6 separate regions of the Homo sapiens genome follow, and all the other regions are linked to region 1. The links are contacts of gene promoters, found by promoter capture Hi-C in blood cells and fetal thymus (Javierre and others, 2016). All regions are on one chromosome and are shown on one strand. Each heading gives the region's core, a stretch centred on a gene start or on the middle of the fragment in contact. The rest is flanking DNA. Distances are from core to core; before and after follow the strand shown.

Region 1 (2,754 bases), core at 188-2,687:
CAATGCATCTTATTCACTGGGAAAACTAATTTTATATTAAAACTTCCAATTGCTTTCCTATTTCTTTCGACTCATGCTTGAAGCGATCTTATGTGACATCTCTAAAGTTTACAAATACAACGGCAATTGCGAACACATCCAACAACCAGAACAATCTACCGGAGGGATAAATCCAAAAATCTAATATAGGACCAGACCCAAACTACCACAATACCAGTCTATTATTAATCAGCGAAACAAATGGAGCCCTTGAAAACTAACAGTCACTAGCGGATTATTTTAAATTAGGCTTAAGGGAGTACAACACAACAATCATGCCTGTAACACGAAAACTAAAGTGTCTACGTGCCAAAACGGTCGATAGGACTACAAACAGCCTTTTTAAGCTTCCCTCTTGTCGGGACTAGGAGTTGACAAGCGGCCTCTACTAGAAGGTTGGCTAGACAGCAAAGAGCCAACAAGCGAGGCACATTTATGCCTCCCATTCTCCCATACCGTTGGTCGACTTATTGCTCTCCTAACGACAACTGAAACGACATCCTTCCGGCCCAGCACGCAATTTCTGAGGTGTGGTGGGAGAAGAGTTGGATAAGAAAGTTTAAGCAAAAACAGCAGGGCTTATCTGTAAGAATAACGTTGCCGCTTGCCGTTCACCCTTCGGGTCCTGCAGTCACTAGTCCCCAGGCCTCAAAAATCCGCTAAGTATGTGCTCCACTGGCCGAGCGCCAACGCGCCCTCCCCTCCCCGCCTCCCGGCACCGAGATCAAAAACAGCCGGGTAACAGGACGGGAAAAAGCGAAAGTCGACAGCAGAAGCACCGCACCTCTCCTCACCCGGATCCGACAGGAAATGGCGGCCCGCGTAATGGCGACTACGTGCTACTAGGCGGAGCCGAGCGCCGACCCCCTCCCCCACCCACCACGCGGTCCCGAGGTCTCATCCCCCGCATCCTCCCCCCACTGCCCGAGACAAAGCCATCGAGGCAGCCCTGACCGTTCCATCCCCGCCGCTCCAGCTCCGACCCCGGGCCGGGAGACCCAAGGTGAGGCGGGGCTCACACAAAGAGAGCGGCGGCGCGACCTTCTCCCCGCACCGGCCTCCTTTCCTCCACGAGGTCCCTAGTTCCCAGTGCCACATAGCTCCAGCTCATCCTAGAGGCACATGCCTCACGAATCCCCAAGTCTCTAGGACCACAACGCGGACTGCGGATACACGCTCAGGGAAATGGCGGAGGTGGGGGAGGGGACACCGGGCAACGTTCCCACTCGGAGAAGCGGCCAAACACCAAAGCGGCTCCCAGGACGCCTCCCTCAAGCGGAAAAACTGGGCTCCGACCCTCACCTCCACGAGCCGCTCCCCCAACCCGGCTCCTCACCGCGCGAGACTGCCGTCCCTCCGCTGCCGCGCCGCCTCAGCCGGTCGGAGCTAGACAGAAAACGAGCGCAGGCTCCCCTCCCCCGCCTTCTCGCGTCCTCCCCGCCGTCGCGCCCTATTGGCTGCCAGGGCTTCAGCGATGGTGCGAGGGCGAAGCGATTGGCCCGAGGCCACGTCAATCAAGGCGACGGAGGAGGCGACAACCCCGCCTCCCGCCAGCGCCTCCCTTCGGGCTGGGAGGCCACTAAGGGCTCGAGAAAACCCGGGCTTGGGAAAAGTAAACGCAGCCTTTCAGGGAGCCCCAACCCTTACCCGAATCAGCAATACCCAAGCTCCAATAACTCCAATTACCTATAGGCCGCGAACAAGTGGGACACAGGCAAGACGTCGAGGTCGGTGCAGCAGAGAAACAGAGGATAATGGCGTCTGCAGTGCTGTCGCCTGGAGCGCCCTCCTCCTTTCTCGTTCGCGCACTCACTAGCTGGGGGGAGGGGCGGCTAGGGGGCGAACCTCTCGCGAGATCTAACAACTGCCTAGTTCACGCGCACAGGGAGGGGGCGGGGAAGGGGCGTTTTCCAGCCCCGAAGGAGTCCTTTGGGGTTGGAGGAGGGGCGCGAGCGCGCGGCAAATCGGGCGGGAAGAGGTAAAAAAGGAACTGGGAGCGCGCCGCGGCGGTTCCTGTCCTTACAGTTGCGCTGCCCAGGGACCGATGTTGCGCGAGGAAAATGCGGGACGCCCAGGTCGGTGCTCGGCCCAGACTTATGCCCGTGTTTTCACAGCCCACACTCGTGCCCGAAGCCCCTTACCCCGCCCCGGGCTGTGGTCTGTGGGCTGTGGGACGAGCTGCGGCGCGGTAAGTGCGGGCCGTCTGCGTCCGCTGGGCCGGGCCCACGCTTCGGAAACCCGTTGTTTGTAATGGTCCGGGGCGCCCGTCAGTCAAGGCCGGGCCCGGGGGCGCAGCTGGCGGTTCTCGGCCTGCCTTGCGCCGGGGCGGGAGCCGGGGAAACGCGGGGCGAGCCTGGGAGTACTGGAGAACTTCTCGCCGAGAGGGCACAGGCGGTTTCACAGGGCTCTCGGTTCTGAGACTTTCCTCTTGGGTAATGGGACCTGAGATGGAAGTATTTTGTAGTGTCGTCGCTGTAGTTTATTCCGATAAAATTTTTAGGCAATATGTATTGCCCTTGTCTCCTAAAATGAATGCGTATCGCTGAATACGTTGCAGACCTCCACGTTCCATTCAAAGCGCCTGCCTTGTGGCAGTGATGAAAACAGACAAAAACCCTTGCCCTCAAACGTGCTCCTGTTCTAGCGGGTTCAGCGCACACTTGCATTGTATTCGGTTCCTTACTTTTAAGGCTCCTGTGCCAAGCTTTCATGACT
Region 2 (2,754 bases), core at 128-2,627, about 30 Mb after region 1:
TCCGAGTGAGGAGTGAGGCGAGCTGGGGGCGGGGAGCAAGCCTACCAGGGGCTTTCCTGGACCTGGGAGTGGTTTCGCCGCCGATGGCTGGGGTATTGAACACAGGGAAAGCCCATCAGAGGTGTGGTTTAAAAGTTCCCCTTGGGCTGCTCTGGGAGAATGAACCAGGGAGGCTGGCCACACGGGGGACCCGTCAGGCGGCTGCTGCAGGAACAGGGTAGCCAGAGAAGGGCTCCTCCGCTGCCTTCCCTCAACCCTCTCCTTCTTTCCCTCTTTCCTTCTCCCTCTCATCTCCTTTTGCCTCTTCCTTCTGACGCTCCTGCTATTTCCCTAAGCGCTTCCTCTATGCCAGCACTGAGCCAGGCCCAGGAAGTGCAAAGCTGACCCAGAGTGGGCACGGTCCCCCAGGGAGCTCCCTGCCATGGAGGGTTCAGAGAACTGCAGCCCATCAGTGCAGCGGCCCCCAGAGCAGCTCACACAAAGGCCTTCTTCCACAGATGGGGAAACTGGGATCCAGAGAGGGGAGAGGCCTTGCCTAAAGCCACACAGGGGTCAGGACAAGGCAGGGGTGAAAGTCAGCCTCCTGGCCCACAGTCTGGGCTTTCTCCCCTGCATGCTGTGTTGAAGGCAGTATGACTCCAGGCCTCCCAGGACAGAAGGTCTGTGTTTGTCCCTTTATCCTCATGAACACTTGGATCCTGCTTGATTTGTGTGGCTGAGAAAAGTCAGCAGGCAACTATTTTTGGACACAAAGTTCCCCAGGGAACAGTGCAGCCCGGGAAAGGCTGACTTCTCAAGGGCTGGAGGAGGGAGGTGCAGGGAATACCATTCTTCCCTCCTTGGCTGCGACTCCTGCTCTGTGGATGGGTGTTCGGGGCTTCTATCCTCTGTCCCCGCCCAGTCTTCCTCTCTACCCCCAAATGCAGAGCCCTACAATTTCCTCCAGATCACCCTGTGTATTGTCCTCCAGCCCCACAGTCCCTACCACATGTGAAGAGCCCACTCGGCGCCAGCCTGGGTTGAAGCTTTACTTTTAAATTCTCAATCTGCCCTCCTACAAACATGAGGGTAGAATTTGGCTAAGATCACCCAGCTACTTCCTGCCACAGCAAGATTTGCAACTGTCAATTCTGGCCTAGTGGTACCCCAATATTTTTTTAATCACACAATCCATCAGTAAAAATATATTTGCTCGAACACATCACGCTAATATATTACATGTATTGGAAAGAGTATTTTCAAAAGTGATCTTCTAAAAAGATGCAATCGAAAATGGGCCAGGTACAGCGGCTCACACCTGCAATCCCAGCACTTTGGGAGGCCGAGGTGGGCAGATCACTTGAGCTCAGGAGTTTGAGACCAGCTTGGGCAACGTGGCAAAAGCCTGTCTCTACTAAAAATAAAAAGGAAAAAGAAAATATATACAGGTGACCCTTAATGACAGTTTGAACCACACAGGTCTACCTATATGTGAATTTTCTTCTGCCTCTGCCACCCCTAAGACAGTAGATCAATCTCCCCCTTAACTCCTCCTCCTCAATGTGAAGATGACAAGGATGTAGGCCTTTATGATGATCCACTTCCACTTAATGAAAGTAAGTAGATTTTCTCTTCCTTATGATTTCCTTAATAACATTTTCTTTTCTCTGGCTTACTTTATTGTAAGAAAACAGTACATAATACATATAAGACAGAAAATATGCATTAACCAACTGTTTATGTTATCAGCAAAGCTTCCAGTCAATAGCAGGCTATTGATAAAGTTTTGGGGGAGTTAAAAGTTATAAGCAGATTTTTGACTGCATGAGGCACTCCTAACCCCTGTATTATTCAAGGATCAACTGTATTTTATTTTATTGAGACAGGGTCTCACTGTTACCCAGGCTGGAGTACAATGGCAATCAGAGCTCACTGTAGCCTTGACCACCTGGGCTCAAGCGATCCTCCCACCTCGGCCTCCTGAGTAGCTAAGACCACAGGTATGCGCCACCATGCCTGGCTAATTTTAAAAATTTTTTTTTGTCGAGATGGGGTTTTGCCACGTTGCCCAGGCTGGTTTTGAACTCCTTGTTTCAAATGATCCTCCTGCCTCGGCCTCCCTATGTGCTGGGATTACAAGCATGAGCCACCCACCCAGCTGGTCAACTATATTTTAAATAGAAGCTCTAATCCTTGCTTCTCATACCTTCTGCAGGGCCTGTACCCTTCTTGGAAATCCCTGCCAGGGATCTTAAGCTTCAGTGTGCTTAAGAATCCTCTAAGCGTGCAGTTTCCTGAAACAACCTGCAGAGAGCCTGACTCAGTGGCCCTGGGATAGGGCCCAGGAATCTGCATTTTAAACCAGGGCCTCAGGCAGGGCCTGCCCTTTGAAGTTCACTAGGCCTCCTGGCTCCTGCTGTTATGGCAGGTGGAGAAGAGGCTACAATTTAGCTGTTGCTTTTCTGATTCTGAAGCCTCTGCTGAGGAAGGGGCCGGGGGAGGTGTGCGGTTTTTTGACTTTTTAAAGGGCTTTTTTTCTAGCTCTGCCACAGAGCAGCCTGCCCAATCACAGAGCCCTCTGGGTGCACAAAGAGGAACATCCTGTCTTCTGGGATGACTCAGTCGTGGCAGAAATCTCACTGTAACCAGGGGAAGGTGCACGTCAGAGGCAGCTGCAGTGACTGACTAGAGTTTCGCACTTGCCCCCAGGCGCCTAAACCAGTGAGCCTTTCCTGAGCCAGGCCTCTGCCTTCCATGCGAGCCATGGCCCTCCTC
Region 3 (2,754 bases), core at 110-2,609, about 29 Mb after region 1:
GGGGTAGGAAGGGAACAGAGTGGTGAGAGTGAAAAAGACTAAAAGGTAGGTAATATAGAGCTAGTCAGTGTAAATCAAAAATTCCTACTTAAGGACAAAAGAAGGCCAGTGTCATTTTATGGTCATTCATCTATTAACTCATTTGTTTATGTATTGTCTATGACTACTCTCACCCTACAAGGCAGAACTGAGTATTTGTGGTTGCAATAGAAACCACATGGCCCAACAGATCTGGAAGCAACTTAAGGGCAGGCACAGCAGTTTAATCATTTTTGTAACCTCTTAGCATTTAGCAGAATAAGGGGCATATGTGGTGCATTTGTCATTTTTCCAGTACATTCTTCAGCACGCACAAAATTTGTTAAGCATATGTTCAAAGAAAAGCTCTGCAATGATCAGAGCTTGGTAGCTCACAAGTTTGGAGGAAGTCAAGCTGTCCACTGGCACAACACAATGGAAAAGGCTAAACTGACTACTAAAAGAGACAAAACCCTTCCTCTCTTTAAAGATTTCTATTCCAGGCTGGTATATATTAATATAATGCTTGGGGAAACTGGAGAATGACAGAAGTCTGTTACGTTGGTTTTAAGCTTTAAGCTTTACAAAGTGCAATTTCGCAGCTATTATTCATTCAACAGCCACTTCCTGAGCACTCACTATGTGCTAGGTACCATGCTGCATGCTAGACAGAAATGAACACCATAAGCAGTCCCTGTCCGGTGAGGACTCATAATCTAATAGGTGCGGGGTATAAGAATAGAGGCAAACACACCTAGCTGCAGGAATAAGGAAGAGAAAGCAATTCATTCTGCCTGAGGTTGCAGAAGGAAAAGCATCCAAAACGTGACATCCGAGCTGGGCCTTGAAGAATGCTAGAGCTGACCCACCAAGGCCTGGTTCTAAAGTGTCTTCGCCTTCTCCATGGAGAAAAGAAGTCTCACATCAGCCCCAGCTGACTCCTATAAAAATTCTGAGGCAGGAAGTCTCATCAGCAATCATTCCCATTTCACCGGAGAAATTGTGACCCAGAATGCAAAAGGCAAACCCAGGGCTATCTTCCCGCCAAGAGAGATGCCGGGTCCCGAACCTCAGATCGGCAGGGTCAGCACAGTTGCAAGTTCTGCCCAGATTCTGAGAGGTGTAGAGCACCGGAATGTGGCAAGGGTCTCCCCCCGGAAGTTGGGAAAAGGCCTGAGAAGAGATCGACCCCCCTCCAACAATCCGCCGGTATCTCTCAGCCACGCCCTCCAGCGCATACTTCTCAGTCACTCACCCGCCGCTCGGCGAGAGGAAATCGGTGTCGTCCTCGTCCCCCGCACCGAACATTGCGTTGGCTTTCACCGGGTTGCGGGGAGGAAGCTGGGTATTCCCAGAGTCCCAGGGCCTGTCACCGCCGACGTCGTAAAATGCCGCGGCGGCGTGCTGCTTTCCGGCAGGGCGAACTCCAGCACGGTCTCTGGACCGAAAGTAGACTGGGCTCTGGAGAAGGTGGGGCAAAGGCAAATGAGAGGCTCGCGCGGGCACGAGCGCCGAGTGACGTCAGGCCTCTCCAGCCCGCAGCGGGGCGGAGCTTCACAGCCCCTTGCAGGGATTGGTCGGTAATGCTAGGGGGCGGGAGGGGGCGGGAAATCCTCGGCCTCGGTGGCGGTGGTGGACACGTCGAGCCGGGTAGAAGTGGAGGGGCCGTTCGAAGAGTCGTGAGGGGGTGACGGGTTAAGATTCGGAGAGAGAGGTGCTAGTGGCTGGACTTGACCTGGAAAGGTAAGGCTTCTCTCGGCCCCTCTTTCGCACCCCTGTGCATGGGTACCGTCCTTTTCCCAGCGGGACAAGGACCTTCCTCGCCGCTTTCCTCAGCTCCGCGGAAGGAGAAAGAGCTCGGGACTGGAGGGTTAAAGACTGGGGCTTCGGCCCGGCCCCTGCAGTGGCATAGCCAGAGTGACCTTGGGCCGGGGTGCTCGGTGCCTCAGTTTCCCCGTGTATGCAACCGGCCATTTGTCCAGTTCTTCCATGTGCCTGCTGGTCCAGAAGATTTTAGAGCTCAGAGGCCATGGATTTCAATCCCGGCCTCCTCGTAATCTCAGAATTTACAGATAGGGAGACGAAGGAACTAAGCACCCGGGTGACTAGTCCGAGGTCACAAAGAGTAAAGGGCAGACTGAGACTGGATTCCTCGTCCTTTGATTCAGGACATAGTGAGCTAGTGGGTGAACAAGAACCTTATCAGCCCTTAAGCACTGTGTGCCCTTACAGAGTGACTATTGAAAGACTGTAGCATACACCTCGAGGAAAGTCCCCTTTCTAGAGTCCACCTGTATTCTACGCGGATGAGGTGCAGAAGAGCTAAGATATTCTGGCGGTGGGTGATGGAAAGGAGGATACTTTGGAGGCAGACACATCCCCACCCCAACTTTGGCGTGGGTTTCCCTGGGTCTTCCTGCGACAGCCCTAAATCAACATCAATTGTGGCGGACTCCTCTGCCTCCAGTTTCCACCCTATCTGTATCTTACATAAGTATTTCTTTGGTTAACCTGGTATCATTCTCGAAACAATCCTGGGGTAGTCCTGGCTTAGACAAGGTGTGGCTAAGGAGATAGTGTCCCAGCGTAGCGTCCACAGACTCACTGGAGTTCTTGGGCTTCCCCTCACAGTCAGGTTGGTACTACAGGTGTCCCTTACGTGAATGTTTCAATCTGTCAGTATGAAATTGAAATGAAATGATTGGTAGCTCCCTCCCAGAGAACTTTGCACCTCCT
Region 4 (2,754 bases), core at 175-2,674, about 29 Mb after region 1:
TCCCAGCACTTTGGGAGGCCGAGGCGGGCGGATCACGAGGTCAGCAGATCGAGACCATCCTGGCTAACATGGTGAAACCCAGTCTCTACTAAAAATAAAATTAAAAAAAAAAATCAGCCGGGTGTGGTGGCAAGCGCCTGCAGTCCCAGCTACTCGGGAGGGCGAGACGGGAGAATCACTTGAACCCGGGTGGCGGAGGTTGCAGTGAGCCGAGATCGCGCCACTGCACTCCAGTTTGGGCCACAGAGCGAGACAGCGAGACTCGGTCTCAAAAAAAAAAAAAAAGAAAAGAAAGAAAGATACATTTGAAATGTACACAGACTGAAACAAATGTAAACTCTGCTAGTGCCTCAAGCATTTAATTAAATACGGCATTGTTTATTCTTGCAGATGTTCATACCATTTAGCATTACTGTCTTTAATAAACGTCATTAGGTTGTATTTACCAAATATATCAACCAATTGATAGAGTCAATATAATCATGGTGCTAGGAAGAAAAATCATTCATCTATGGTGTCTCTGCATTCGTCTAAAACACATACCCAAAAACTACTGTGTACACTGAAAGCTAAAAAAGGTAAAGGAGTACTGTATCTGCTCTGCACCATACACTGTGTAACATGCTCGAAATTAGTTCCTTTATTTATTTATCACCATTTTATAGATGAGGAAACCGTACCCAGGGTCATAGAGCTAGTAGGAATTATTTGGGCTGCTGGTTTCCAAACTTCGTGCTTTCGTACTAAATCCTGGGGAGATCCAAGATGAGCAAGACCCTAATCCTGCTTTCAGAAGGGAAAATAAAGTCTTATTCAAGCAACCATACTATTAATTAAAAAAAAAAAAAGCTTAACAAACCCGCTCTTTAAAAGGTGGGCACAGTGCCGGAGGCAAAGAATTGATTTCATTGGCAGCAAAGAGTGATGCCTTAGTCTAGGGAGCCCGGGAAAGACACAAGGGATAGAAAACAGACACCGGTTTTTAGTAAATGAATCGTTAGGTGTCTCCAGCGGCTGAAACACAGAGCGAGCAATGCGGGGTTAGGACTGGAGGACAACAGGGCCATCTTGTGACAGGGTAGACTGGCGTGCCAGAAAGGTCCCTGCCTACGGATGTGCAGAGCCGGCTGGGCCCGGGCTGTGAACGAGACGAAGGAAGCAAGTAGGAGCCAGAAATGTTAGGTGGCAAGGTCGGAAGGGAGGTCGCTGCCTGTAGCAACAAAGACGGCGGCGACAGGTTAGCACCGGAGCCACACTTTTCTATTGCCCGGTGCCTCCAGACTGTCGTACTTACCTGGGACCCGAGGACACCGGGACCGCCTCTCCTTACAATCGCTGCTCTTAAAGGGGGCGCGACCACTTAGGCAAGAGGAGCTCAACTCGCGGCACTACAACCTTCCCGCCCCCGCTGCGCTTCCGCCTCCTGACTGACGTGCGCCCCAGGGAGCGGAAACCCCGCCTCCCGCCGGGACCCAACGGCCACCGCCCGTCGTGATTCGCACTTTAGCGGCCACCTCAGTGCAGACGTCACTTTTTTTTCCAAAGAGTGACAGTCGAAGAGGCTCACGGGAGATGCAAACGGTACTTTTGGGGGCTGGGCCAGGGTGGGGCGTGGCCCGGGGCGGGGGAGGGGCGGGGCTGCCAGGCAGGGGCGGGACGGAGAACACCTGGGTCCCTAGCACCAAGACTGGCTTTTTATTCATTGCCACCGCCTGGCCGGTCTTGCGACGGTGCGAGTCCACCTCGGCTGGGCCTCGGAGGAGGGGCGACTCTAGAAGCTAAACTCGCTTTCGAGCTTTAACAACCATCTCGGATTGCGCATCCGCACACACACACACACACACACACACACACACACAAATTCAGGAATATTTTTTGTCTACAGTTTACATAATTATACACAATGAAAGCACTGAATATGGAGGATTTTTATTACAGTGCAATAATCTGCATTTAAGAAGTGGATGTGCCACATCGCAGAACACCAAGTTGCCACTAGTGGGATCACCTGCTGCCCACCTGATTCCAGCACAGTAGATAGCTACACATTTGAATTAAAAGGTAATCGTATATTGACATGTGTTCAAATTGCACTCTTTTTAATTTAAAAAAATATTTTTTATGGTGACAGTGTCTCGCTTTGTTGCCCAGGCTGGTCTTGAACTCCTGGCCTCAAGGGATCTGCCCACCTCAGCCTCCCAAAGTGCTGGGATTACAGGCGTGAGCCACCTGCCCTGCTTAAAATTGCAGTGTCTTAATCTCTTCCGAAAGATACATTTGAAAAACGCACAGACTTAAATCACAAATGTAAGCTCCCCAAGCGCCTCAAGCATTTAATTAAATAGAATGGATAATGAATTTGAACATATGTTTTTAATAATTGATGTTTGCTCAAGAGTAAAATGTTTATGATGCACAATTTTCTTGTGCATGGATCAATGACTGAAATAATCGTTTCAATATCAAGTATTTATTTACTGAAAACCAAGCATGTATTTACTCTATACCAAGCAGCTATTGAGTGCCTTCTACAATGCGAGGTGCTTCCTGTGCATCAGCTCTGGTCCTGCTGTTCCCTGATTTATATTTGAGACTCATGTTTCTTGCTCTATGTCAAGTAGCGAGCTAAGATTCAAATTTAAAGATCTGCCAGATGCTAAGGCCTGAGTTCTTAAATCTCACACATTGCCTCTGCTCTGGAGGAATGAATTCCTCTGAGACCAGTTCTTGCTGACTTGACTTTAATCCAGATAT
Region 5 (2,754 bases), core at 97-2,596, about 25 Mb after region 1:
CTAACAGAAATGAAGGCTGAAGCACTAGAATCTAACTAGACTAGTCTTTATGTGGCCTAGCACAAGGCTGGGTTCACACAGGGTTTCACTCACCCCTCCTGTGATTGTCCTCACCACACTGCAGTCAAAGTTAGTGGTTTCTGTGTCTGTCTCCCTACAGAGCCCCTTGAGAGCAGGGACTGGGCTTTCTTCATTTCCGTGGGCCCAGCACCTGGCACAGCATAGGACGTACTGAGTAGGAGCTAAGTGTTTGCTGAGCAAAAGAATGAATGAGTGGCGTCCTTTCAAAAAAAGCCTGTCTGTGCTTCCTGCGAGAGATGAAATTGAAAGCTGGGGATGTTTCTACTGAGCATCCATGTGGTTGAGAACAGAGAAAAATTAAAATACTGGAACATAGGACCTAAAAACTAAATTTGAGAAAGAAGCCCATTGTCCACTCAAATCTCAAGGTCATATGATTTTAGGTGTCTCCTCCAAAATACGAGGCTACTTGGGTTCTCTCTGTTGACCTTAACATGACAACTCACTCCAACAACCTCAGGGACAAACAGCCTCCATCGGCACGCAGGATACAGTAGAAGTGAAAGACATTCAGAGTCGTGGATCAAGCTGACCCTGGAGACCACACTGCCTCTTGCTTTCCAGTTGCATGAATGAATGAATTTTGTAATCATTTAAGCCAGTTTTGGTTAGGCTTCTATTACTTGAAACAGAAAGCTTCCTGATTTATAAAAATGGTTGCTGTGAAGGTGAAATAAGAAAGTATGTATAAAAGCAGCAGCACAGTGTCTCTGACATGGTGAGAATCTGACAGTGACTCTTGGGGTAACTCTTACTTTTGTCCTAGAAAAGATAAGGGGTATCTCTTAAACAACTGATACTCCCAAGGTATCAAGATAACATCCACCAGAGATATTACAAACACAGGCAGGGAGACGATTCTCCAGCATTGTGTCTGTTTTAGAGCTCTCCAAGTGTATCCACAAACATTTACTAAGGTGTGCTGAGTATCTGCTTTGTACAAAGTCCAGTGCTTACAATGTGGTATGTGCGTTGTGTGTAAGGTAGTATGTACAATGCAGAAGAAGTGATCATGTGAAAATGAAATCAGGGTGACATGCATTCAGATTCCAAATCTGCCACTTATTATCTGTATAATCCTGGACAAGTTACATAGCATCTCTGAGCTCAGTTTCCTCAGCTATAAATGGTGCATGATCCTTGTTCATAAGGTGGCAGTAAAGATTAAATTGGAGAATAACATATATTAAACACCCAGAGGCCAGGCGCGGTGGCTCACACCTGTAATCCCAGCACTTTGGGAGGCCAAGGCAGGCGGATCACCTGAAGTCAGGAGTTCAAGACCAGCCTGGCCAACATGGTGAAGCCCCATCTCTACTAAAAATACAAAAATTAGCCAGGCATGGTAGTGGGCGCCTGTAATCCCAGGTACTCAGGAAGCTGAGGCAGGAGAATCGCTTGATCCTGGGAGATAGAGGTTGCAGTGAGCTGAGATCACACCACTGCACTCCAGCCTGGGCGACAGAGCAAGGCTCTACCCAGGACATTGTGGTATCTCTCCATGGTCCAGGGCCACCACTTTGCGCAATTCCAGGGATACAATTCACATTTGGGGGCACTATTTACATTTGGCATCCCGTACAGATGTGCAACAACTGCCAAGAGCACATTGAGCTCCTTAGACCAACAACCATACATTGGACATCTCTTCTATCTTCATAGGACCAGCCTTCCAGATATATAACTCTCCTCTTGCCTATCTGGATAATTCCCATTCATCTTTCAAGCCTCAGCTCAAAATCATCTCCTTTGTGGAATTTTCCTGATCCAGGGAAACTTAGCAGCTACCTTTACTGTGTAGCACTTACAGCTATCTCTTCTCAAGTACCAACCACATTATATTGTAATCATTTTCACAAATATCTGAATTCCCCATTGGATCAAAAGTCATCGATAAGCTTTTTTGCATTTGCTCCAGTACTTTGCACACTTTTTTTTAATAATTAAAAAAAGTGAGTAGACACCATATTATTGTAGAGGCTGCAGGATGTGCTGGAAAGAACACAAGCTTTTAAGGCAGACAGATTTGGATTATAATCCTGGCTCTACTGCTTTCTTGCTGTATACCCTTGGATAAATTAACTTACTGAGAATGTTTCCTCATTTGTACAAGAGAGATAAGAAATCTACATTGCAGAGCTGTTGTGAGGACTAGAACTAGTTTATGTAAATAACTAATATGGTACTTGGCCACAGAGTAGTCATTACTTACCTTCCCTTGGGCTGCTTTATACACAGCACTTAGCTGCCATGAACTGAACCCAGCTATGATGGTTACTTTACAATAGAAATTCAAACAGTGACTACTGGAATAGTTATAACAAGGTCTTTTATTACAATTACTATAAACCAAGGCTGGCAATTGCATGGCATGTGAATTACTACTTTCCTTTGCTAAGTCCATGGCAAACATTATTAATCTATCACTGAACTATCACTGAATTCTTTCTCTTTTTTTTTTTTTTTTTTGAGACAGAGTGTCACTCTGTCACCCAGGCTGGAGTGCAGTGGCACGATCTCAGCTCACTGCAACCTCCGCCTCCCAGGCTCAAGCAGTCCTCCCACCCCAACCTCCCTAGTAGCTGGAACCACAGGCACATGCCACCACGTTTGGCTAATTTTTTTTGTATTTTTGGTAGAGACAGGTTTTGGCCATGTTGCCCATGTTGGTCT
Region 6 (2,754 bases), core at 156-2,655, about 25 Mb after region 1:
CAACAGAGCGAGTCTTAGTCTCTAAAAACAAAATAAAATAAGAATAATAAATAAATAGAAGAGTACTCTGGGTCTAGGAACCAAACTCAGGCTTTGAATTCTGATGAAATCCAGGACTAATTCTGTGAGTCTAGTGAACCACAGCACAAAACCTTCAAAGCTCAGAAGACATAGAGAAAGATACCCACACAAGTGACTGGAAAACAAGAGCAAGTGATACAACGGGACACTGGAAATGACAAGGAAAGAGCCGATGCACACACTGTTGTGGCAGTATACTAAAGCATTCCTGTACCTACCTATATTACAGTGACATCTACAGCAGGAAACTGACTGTAAGTACAAGAGAAGGGCTGTCCCATTACACACCAGATGGTTTGAGTTCTGATTCTTAAAAAGAAACGATGTTCTTAGGGGCAAGAAGAAAAAAATACTCAGAAATTTAGGAAAAAGAAACACTTAAAAGATTTATTTTATGATGAGGATTATTTAGACTAGAAGTCCAGAAAGGGATTCTAGATCAATAATCACCTATCTTGACACAGGTTGAAATGAAAGTTAAACAAAATAAATAAAACCAAGATTTCCAAATCTGTACTCAACATTTATTCTGTGTGTCTGTGATTTCCTTCCTTGTCATAGCCTGTAATACAAATAACAGCAATCTGGCTTGCATATCAGCACATCACTACTCTAAGTTTATGGCTAGTATTCATAATCGACCATGGTCTTCTTTTTCCCCTTGCTCAAAAATTGGTCTTAGAAGTCTTATTACCCTTACAGTTTTCTAGGCTGCTGTCATGAGATGACTAGAATTTACACCGTAGAGAAAACCCAACCACAACCTTTGGTTTAGACTTGCATTACTTATATTCTTATAACAATTACTTACTTGGCCCTGGACAAAAGCAGTCAAAAGGGGAAACCATTCTGGCATAAGAGGTAAAGGGTAAGCAGAACTGTCTGAGTCACTTGCCATTAGGTGAAAGAAAACAAAGGAGATAAAACTAACCAGAAAAACAAGTCGAAACTGCCAAGCTTTCTACAGCAGTTGCCAAAACAGGAAATTTACTTCCACTAGTCAGATATATAACCACAGAGTCTAACAGATTATAACCAGGAAGACAGGCTGAACAAAGAAAACTTAGACACCAAAATATAAAATAAAATAAAATAAAATCTTCCCTATTTTCCACTGTCAGAGAGATATATAGTTATGGTTACTTTGTTTCAGGAATTTTAAAATTCTAAATATATATTTACAAATAAAAATATGGCTTACAATTGTTAGATATTACTCATTTATCAAATAAAATAATAAAAAGCAAATTAATTTTTAAAAACTTTTACAAGGTACCTGTACAAATACACCAGAGTACCACAAACAGCCTCATGATGAGAATAAAATGAAGATGTTAAAAATAATGCTCTATAAGTGTATTCATTGACACAGAAAGTTCCTCATGACATAATTAAGTTTAAAATGTGGGTTACAAAACAGAATGTTCACTGTGATCTAGTTTTTTTGTGTTTTTAAAAGCCTAAAGGCAAAACAACTATTAGTTAACATTTTGGTATAATCTGTAGACAGTGAGATTTTGAGTGATTTTTAGTTTCTTCCTTTTGTTTCTCTGTATTTCCTAACTTTACTGCAACACACATATTATCTGAGAAATTAATTCTTTTTAAAACATACTGCAGCTAGTAATCTGCTCTTGGAGTTTATTATCGCCATCAGAAAGAAGCAAGGAGTAAAGTATTGGTCAACTGTAGAAGCTTTGTGTTCAGATTTACCTCTCCAGTCACAGCTGCTTCCACACGGCTGGGTAACCAGAAGTCTGATCTGATGATTTGAGGACCACTACTATATCCTGACAACCTCCCCACTTACAACTCATTAGAGACCTCTACCTTTAACAAACTATTTGCAGATATAGGTCACTCACAGCCAGGGTACCTCAAAATAATCTTTAAAAGCACATGGTCTATTCAACTTTGTACTAGAAATTCCAACCAGAGCAATCAGGCAAGAAAAATAAATTACAGGCATGCAAATTAGAAAGGAAGAAGTCAAACTATCCCTATTGCAGATGACTGAACTTACATATGCAGAATCCTAAAGAATATACCAAAGAAACTACTGAAGCTAATAAATTCAGCAAAGCTGCAGGACACAAGATCAACAAGCAAAAAATCTGTTGTATTTCTACCCAGCAGCAATAAACCATCCAAAAGGAAAATTAAGAAAACAATTCCACATGATAGTATCAAAAAGAATAAGGAATAAATTAAAGGTCTAAGACATATACAAAGAAAACTACAAAACACTGCTGACTCCCATGTTTGTTGCAGCACTGTTCACAATAGCCAAAATTTGGAAGAAACCTAAATGTCCATCAACAGATAAATGGAAAAAGAACATGTGGTACTTATACACAATGGAGTACTATTCCGCCAAAAAAAAAGAATGAGATCCTGTCATTTGCAATAACATGGATGGAACTGCAGGCCATATAAGCTAAGTGAGACAAACTAGGCACAGAAAGACAAACACCTCATGTTCTCACTTATTTGTGGGATCTAAAAATCAAAACAATTGAACTCAGAGATAGAGAGCAGAAGGATGGTTACCAGAGGCTGGGAAGGATAGTGAGAGGGTACGGGGAAGCTGGAAGTGGTTATTAATAGGTACCAAAAAGTTTAAAAAAATGGACAGGGCGTGGTGGCTCATGCCTGTAATCTCAGCACTTTGGG

Evidence for each region. Contacts are between HindIII fragments. The CHiCAGO score rates a contact against its expected background, and 5 or more counts as called.
Region 2: a contact is called between a fragment that was not itself captured here and the fragment with the promoter of HNRNPK in region 1, in 1 of 17 cell types (fetal thymus). The highest score is 9.9, in fetal thymus.
Region 3: a contact is called between the fragment with the promoter of FKBP15 here and the fragment with the promoter of HNRNPK in region 1, in 1 of 17 cell types (fetal thymus). The highest score is 5.4, in fetal thymus.
Region 4: the fragment with the promoter of INIP here is called in contact with the fragment with the promoter of HNRNPK in region 1 in 2 of 17 cell types (activated CD4 T cells and fetal thymus); the score reaches 8.5 in activated CD4 T cells.
Region 5: a contact is called between a fragment that was not itself captured here and the fragment with the promoter of HNRNPK in region 1, in 1 of 17 cell types (activated CD4 T cells). The highest score is 10.2, in activated CD4 T cells.
Region 6: a fragment that was not itself captured here is called in contact with the fragment with the promoter of HNRNPK in region 1 in 2 of 17 cell types (total CD4 T cells and activated CD4 T cells); the score reaches 6.1 in total CD4 T cells.

What each region holds. Positions count from the first base shown.
Region 1 is chr9:83,978,778-83,981,531 of GRCh38, forward strand. HNRNPK (heterogeneous nuclear ribonucleoprotein K) reads right to left here and starts at 1,438. Exons shown (of 17, transcript NM_031263.4): 1 at 1,376-1,438. RMI1 (RecQ mediated genome instability 1) reads left to right here and starts at 2,028. Exons shown (of 3, transcript NM_001358291.2): 1 at 2,028-2,114. RefSeq lists enhancers at 712-871, 1,692-1,741, 1,701-2,208, 1,782-1,841, 1,972-2,041 and 2 more and silencers at 1,412-1,551, 2,362-2,441. The HindIII fragment of the contact is 2,357 bases long and covers 385-2,741 here.
Region 2 is chr9:114,383,014-114,385,767 of GRCh38, forward strand. All of the region lies in intron 1 of AKNA (AT-hook transcription factor), which reads right to left. Among named protein-coding and RNA genes, the nearest start is that of AKNA, 3.6 kb to the right of the region's middle. RefSeq lists enhancers at 1-509, 2,542-2,611, 2,632-2,681. The HindIII fragment of the contact is 708 bases long and covers 1,024-1,731 here.
Region 3 is chr9:113,219,918-113,222,671 of GRCh38, forward strand. It overlaps FKBP15 (FKBP prolyl isomerase family member 15), which reads right to left and starts at 1,360. Exons shown (of 28, transcript NM_015258.2): 1 at 1,274-1,360. The coding sequence starts at 1,326. It overlaps SLC31A1 (solute carrier family 31 member 1), which reads left to right and starts at 1,627. Exons shown (of 5, transcript NM_001859.4): 1 at 1,627-1,761. RefSeq lists enhancers at 1,159-1,288, 1,399-1,508, 2,349-2,538. The HindIII fragment of the contact is 3,588 bases long and covers 596-2,754 here.
Region 4 is chr9:112,716,693-112,719,446 of GRCh38, forward strand. It overlaps INIP (INTS3 and NABP interacting protein), which reads right to left and starts at 1,425. Exons shown (of 5, transcript NM_021218.3): 1 at 1,295-1,425. RefSeq lists an enhancer at 1,007-1,106 and a silencer at 1,477-1,636. The HindIII fragment of the contact is 2,113 bases long and covers 848-2,754 here.
Region 5 is chr9:109,123,367-109,126,120 of GRCh38, forward strand. No RefSeq gene overlaps it. Among named protein-coding and RNA genes, the nearest start is that of TMEM245, 4.8 kb to the left of the region's middle. The HindIII fragment of the contact is 1,262 bases long and covers 716-1,977 here.
Region 6 is chr9:109,101,093-109,103,846 of GRCh38, forward strand. All of the region lies in intron 3 of TMEM245 (transmembrane protein 245), which reads right to left. Among named protein-coding and RNA genes, the nearest start is that of TMEM245, 17 kb to the right of the region's middle. The HindIII fragment of the contact is 738 bases long and covers 1,037-1,774 here.